Linked DNA regions of Homo sapiens: region 1 is linked to region 2. The links are contacts of gene promoters, found by promoter capture Hi-C in human tissues and cell types (Jung and others, 2019). All regions are on one chromosome and are shown on one strand. Each heading gives the region's core, a stretch centred on a gene start or on the middle of the fragment in contact. The rest is flanking DNA. Distances are from core to core; before and after follow the strand shown. Region 1 holds the start of TMPRSS6 (transmembrane serine protease 6). Region 2 holds the start of EIF3D (eukaryotic translation initiation factor 3 subunit D).

Region 1 (3,098 bases), core at 528-3,027, 580 kb after region 2:
CAGAGTCTGGTACTCAGCGGACACTCAGTAATTGTTAAATGAATGAATGACAAGGTCCCAGCTCCTTCCTCCCTACAGAAGTCCAAGGTGCTGTGTGCATATGTGGCCTGGCCAACTTCTCCTGCCTCCTTTTTTCCCACCCTCTCTTTTCCCCGTCGCACCCCAAGGACACTGGACTTCCATTGGTGAGAAATTTTAACAATGGGATGGTAGCAAACATTTATGGATTAAGAGCAGCCAGCCGGCACCAAGAGCCCTCGTGGACCTTGAGCCCTGTCAGTGCTTGTTCACGGCCAGGCGTCCCCACACTCTTCCTTCTGCCTGGGCCCCCACCTCCCAACCTGGCCAGCTCTTATGCAGCCCCTGTCACCTCAGTTCAGACCTCACCTCTTCGCAGCTCTCCCAGAGTGCCCTAGAAGGGGCGGCTGCCCCTCGCGATGTGCAGCTTACCTGTGGGCACTCTCTCTTTGCCCCTCACATTGAACTCCTGGAAGCGGGGACTGTGCTCCAATTGCCACAGGGGCCTGAAGCAGTCCCCCAGCTCTGAGCACCATGGACCCCACCCTGGCACCTGCTCCTCACTCCCTCCTGCCCTTCTGGCCATTGGAGGGTCTCGGGTCTGCCTGCTGGAGGCTGAGCTCCTTGGGGCGGGGCCGCGACTCCCCCAGCAATGCAGATCCGGATTCAACCACTGCGTATGAACTCCTACCATGTGCCAGCCCTGTGCTGGGCAGTGCTGCAAACTCCACTGCAGCCTCCAACAGCCTGGGGTGCCTACTTTGCTGACTCTATTTAATGGCTGGGGAAACTGAGGTAGAGAGAGGTAACATGACTTACCCGAGGTCCCTCAGCCAGGGCAGAGCAGAGCAGAGCAGGGACTCTGGGCTAGGGCCATAGGGGCATCTTTCAGTGAAACCATTAGGCCCTAGAGTCCTGAGAGTGTGGGGGACTGGGTGGGGGTCCCTTCCACACATATAAACACACTCACAGACCCACAGATGTACACAGATGGAGACACGCGGAGGGATATACGCACATCTATTCATGACACAAAAATTCATAGATGCACGCCCTTCCTACACAGACACACACACGAACACACATACACATACATGCCAACTCTGAGCCTGTGAGCCCAGGGTCCTGGGCTTAAGTCAGTACATAGGTGCAATGTGGGGCTCCGGGCCTGTCTCCTACACCAGAAGGCCCAGGTGGGGTACCGGGTGTGGAGGGGGCAGCATGTCCAGTCCTGCGAGGCAGGGGTAGGGTGGCCTCTCCCTTCCTCCTGTCCCTGCCACCTGAATCCCAGGCCACCAACCACCCAGCACTGATGCTGTGCCTGTCCACACACCTGGTGTCACCCTGCGTGGTCCCTCCCCTCCCCAGCTCTGTGGGCCCCTCACCTTCTGCTCACTGATCACCCTCTGGCCGATGAGGCCCTGCAGGCCTGGCCTCGGAGCAGGGTAGGTGGCTCAGGCTGCAGGGAGCCAGGCCCAGCTCTTAGGGTGGACACTGTCACTAGGTCATTTATAGATCCCGGTCCCCTGTCCTGGAGGCCCCCGCTTACCTTTGGGAGCGGCAGATAGGTGCCGGGCCTGCACACAGGCCTCAGGAGCCTCTGTTTGTCCAGGCCAAGGCCTCCCCACCCCCACCCAGCCAGCCCAGGCTGGATCAATGGCCTAGAGCCATGACCAGGGTGTCTGGCCCTTGTCCCCTGTGGCCTGTGGCCTCAGGCTCCATGGAACTCCTCCTGCTGGGTCCTGGACAGCACTGTGACTAAGTACAGGTAAACAGGCAGGAGGTAGGAGAAGGCAGTGCCTGCCCCGCCCCATCTTCCCCCACCCCCGCATGGGCACCCCAGAGGCTGGCAGGCAGGTGCGGGAGATCTGAGCTCTCCCCCGAGGCCCGTTGCCTGGTGACATGCCTGCCTGGTTACAGCCCCTGGTCCCCGAGAGCATGAGGTAGGGACAGCCAAGGACTGGGGACTGTGCAGAGGCCGGTGCAGGTGAGTGCAGGGGCTCACAAGGGTGAGTCCAGGTGCTTACCTGGACAGGCGAGACTAAAGGAGCTGCTGGCCTGAGAGAGAGAAAAGGAGGCTGGGCCCATATACTCTGGGGACTGGAGAGGAGAAAGGGGAGGCAGGGGTGGGGTTTGATGCTATTTTCTGTTTAGCTGGGAATTATTTGAATTCCTACCTCGTTCTTTTTTTTTTTTTTTTTTTTTTTTAAGATGGAGTCTCACTCCGTCACCCAGGCTAGAGTGCAGTGGTGTGATTTCGGCTCACTGCAACCTCCGCCTCCCGGGTTCAAGCAATTCTCCTGCCTCAGCCTCCCAGGTAGCTGGGATTACAGCGCCCACCACCATGCCCGGCTAATTTTCATAATTTTAGAAGAGATGGGGTTTCACCATGTTAGCCAGGCTGGTCTCGAACTCCTGACCTCAAGTGATTCCACCCACCTCGACCTCCCAAAACGCTAGGATTACAGGCATGAGCGACCGCACGCAGCATGAATTCCTACCTGGTTCCGTAGCGCTGTGCTGTCCATGACGGTAGCCGCTGGTCACCCGTGGCTCTTGAGTCAGTCTGAACTGAGAAAAGCTGCACGGGGGAGACGCACACCAGGTTTCCAAGGCCAAGTGCAAACAGGATGTCAACCAACGCGATAACAATTTTTATATTGATTTTATGTTGAAATAACACTGGTGATCATGGGATAAATAAAATGTATTATTAAAAGCAATTTTCTTCTGGCTCTCTTGTTTTTTTTTTTTTCAGAGACAGGGTCTCATTAGGTTGCCAGGCTGGTCTGGAGCTCCTGGGCCCACATGATCCTCCTGCTTCAGCCTCCCAAGTAGCTGGGATTACAGGCGCGGGCCACCACACCCCTTGTTGCATGTGGATATTAGACAGGTTAAGTCACAAGTGTGACCTGCGTTGTTGTTCTATGGAACAGCGTTGCTGTGGAGATGGGTTTGAGCCATATGCGTGCCGAAGTGCCGGATGGGAGCCAGGGCTTTCTAGGGTGCGTGCAGGGCAGCGGGCGTCTGTCTCAGACAAGGCTGACTTTCAGCGAGTCTACATCCTGAGGCCAGAATGC
Region 2 (3,094 bases), core at 217-2,716:
GTGGTGGCGGGCACCTGTAATACCAGCTACTCAGGAGGCGGAGGTTGCAGTGAGCCAAGATCCTGCCATTACACTCCAGCCTGGGCAACAGAGCAAGACTCCGTCTCAAAAAAACAAAAATCAAATGTTTCTTGGAGGCTGGAGAGCAATCAAAAGAACAGGTATGCTGAACTTAGTAAACTCTCCTCAAAGCCCCATGCTGGGGAGATTGAGGCTTCCTTCAGAGATGACATTTGGGTGACAGCAACACAGGATGAACCTAGAAGTTTCATCTTTCTAATAGAAACTATAGGAAGAGGACAGAAGAAAAAGGGTGGTGGTCTCAGAACAATTTGTATTAAATAAATATTGCTGAGCTCCTACGTGTTAGGCCCTATACCAGATAATTTAACACCATTGACCACCCCCCCACCCCTACTTTAGAGGCAAAAATTTGAAGCTCAGCCTACTCAAGCAGCTGACCTCATCATTTCAAAACAGATTTGATTTCCAGGGTTGCCTGCTGTCAGTCCAGCCTTCTTTCCATTATATTACAGCTGGGCAGCAGCCCGCAAAGATCAGGGGTTTGAGACCGTACATCATAATACCAAGACAACGAGTCTCAAAACACACTTTAAAAAATCGGGTTCTGTCAGAAGCTCAAGAAGGGAAGAGGCCCGAGGCTCGACCTGCATCACCTCCCTGGAAAGCCAGGGATGAGATACCCTGGCTTTAATAAATGTTTTTTTTTTTAAGAGCAGAGCGGAACCAGGAGGAGAAACTGAGCCGCTCAGCAAAAACGAAGTAACAGCTGTACTAGTCACAGGGGCAGGATAGGGAGGTTCCAAGAGGGCACTCAGAAGGGGCTCTGTGGTTGGCAGGCCACTACAGATCATAAGCCGTCCATCGCTGAACAGGGGGTGGGGTAGATTTAAGATCAGAGATCAAATCTACTTCTCTATCCTAGCCTCCAGTTTCACAAAAAAGGAAAGATAACCTATGCACTGTGAATTCCTAAGAACAGGGGCCAAACACCGCTCAGCCTGGTACCCCTAAGACCTCACTCAAAAAGTCAGGGAGTTTTCGGCCACTTCAGAAAGACTTTGTTGTTACCCCTCCGTCTTAACCCAGGTGAGTTAAGTGACAATCAAATTCACCCAGCTCATGGGCACTGAGCAGGGCCGAGGGCCAAGGACCTCACCCACAAGGTCGTGTCCCGCGTTCAGTAGCGTGCGGGACGCGGGGCCCCCGAAAGTGGATTCCTGCCCCGCCCAGCGGAGGGACGGCAACAGCAGGAAGGGACTAAGAGAGGTCTCTTCCGGGAGGCCCCCCGAAGGCTGGACCTAGTCCGAACCGGCTCCGGAGGGCCGCAGGAACCTATGAAACACGCCGCTCACCTGCAATGGCCTCGGCCGGCCGGGATGGCAACAGATGGTGCGTGCCGGGGACCGCGTTAGCAGCAGCACTCTTGAGAAACCAGGAAAAGAGGAAACATGCGCGCGCAGCGGGCGCCGCCGTAAACACGACCGGCGCTGTCGTAAACTGCTCTCCCGCTTCCTCTGGGTTGGGCGGAAGAACTCACGAGCCGTAAAGCGAAGGTCCACCCGGAAATCCGTTACTGCGTTTCGCCAGGCGTCCTCATTAGCCTCCGAGGCGCCGAGACGCGAGAGGTGTGATTGGCACTACGTCAGGCGGTATCCGGGGACGCCCAAAGAGGGCGTTCATCACTGAAACTTGGCGGCCGCGCAATCGAAGCTCGAGGCGGGGAGCGACTGGCGCCCTTCTGTGTCCCACAATGCTTCGCGGCGCGCCTCAGCCCCCATGTATCCCACCGTCACCCGCGACTCCCCGCCTGTTCTACCTGCCTGCTTAATGTGAAACTCAGCGCAGGGGAGGTCCGTCGGTGTCTTAGGCGGTCCTTATTGTTACTCCTCCGCCTTTATAGTTGTGGAAACTGAGGCTCAGAAGTGCCAAGTGACCTGCCTAGATCAGACTGTTAGTTTAGGGTTCTAACCGCCAGAGTTCAAACCATACTTCCGCAGTTCTCAAACTTAATTGTAGGACAGGGATTTCTGGAACAGTGTTTTTATTTATTTTTATTTATTTTTTGAGACAGGGTTTCGCTCTGTCGCCCAGGCTGAAATGTAGTGGCAGGATCACGGCTTATTGCACCCTCGACTTCTCAGGTACAAGCGATCCTCCCAGTTCAGCCTCCCGAGTCGTTGGTGTACACAGGCACGCACAACCACGCCTGCCTAATTTTTGTATTTTTGGTAGAGATGGGGTTTTGCTATGTTGCTCAGGCTGGTCTCAAACTCCTGAGCTCAACAGTCCACCCACTGGGGCTAGGGTTACAGGCATGAGTCACCGTACCCGGCCAGCTAATGATTTTTAAAAATTTTGTAGAGACAGCGTCTCACTATGTTGCCCGGGCTGGTCTTTAACTCCTGGTCTAAAGTGGTCCTCTCGCCTCAGCGTGCGGAGCAGCTGAGGCTACAGGTGCATGCCACCATGCCTGGCTAATTTTTTTTTTTAGACGGAGTCTTGCTCTGTCTTCCAGGCTGGAGTGGAGTGCAGTGGCGCTATCTCAGTTCACTGCAACCTCCGCATCCCAGGTTCAGGTGATTCTCCTGCTTCAGTCTCCCGAGTAGCTGGGATTGCAGGCGTGTACCAACATGCCCGGCTAATTTTCCTTTTAGTAGAGACGGGGTTTCACCTTGCTGACCAGGCTGGTCTCGAACTCCTGACCTCAGGTGATCTACCCACCTCGGCCTCCCAAAGTGCTAGGATTACAGGCGTGAGCCACTGCGTCCGGCTGCCTGGCTAATTAAAAAAAAAAAAAAAAACTTCTGTGGAGACGAAGTCTCATCATGTTGCCAAGGCTAGTCTCAAACTCCTGGGCTCAAGCAGTCCTCCTGTCTCGGTCTCCCAAAGTGCTGGGATTACGGGCGTGAGCCACCACACCTGACCAGGATAGTATTTTTAAAAATTCAGATTCTGGGTCTCATTTTGATAGATTATACGGATATGTTTATGCTGGAGCCCAAGAGCTCCGCATTAGCTGTGATTCTGAAGTGACGACTCAGGAACTGCTTTACTACAGTAGATAACAGTG

Evidence for each region. Contacts are between HindIII fragments. The study calls those that stand out against the background at their distance.
Region 1: the fragment with the promoter of TMPRSS6 here is called in contact with the fragment with the promoter of EIF3D in region 2 in 2 of the 25 tissues and cell types used here (mesenchymal stem cells and mesendoderm cells).

Annotation. Positions count from the first base shown.
Region 1 is chr22:37,107,936-37,111,033 of GRCh38, forward strand. TMPRSS6 (transmembrane serine protease 6) reads right to left here and starts at 1,778. Exons shown (of 18, transcript NM_001374504.1): 1 at 1,568-1,778. RefSeq lists an enhancer at 8-509. The HindIII fragment of the contact is 35,568 bases long and covers 1-3,098 here.
Region 2 is chr22:36,527,700-36,530,793 of GRCh38, forward strand. It overlaps EIF3D (eukaryotic translation initiation factor 3 subunit D), which reads right to left and starts at 1,467. Exons shown (of 15, transcript NM_003753.4): 1 at 1,377-1,467. RefSeq lists enhancers at 978-1,027, 1,338-1,737. The HindIII fragment of the contact is 12,569 bases long and covers 1-3,094 here.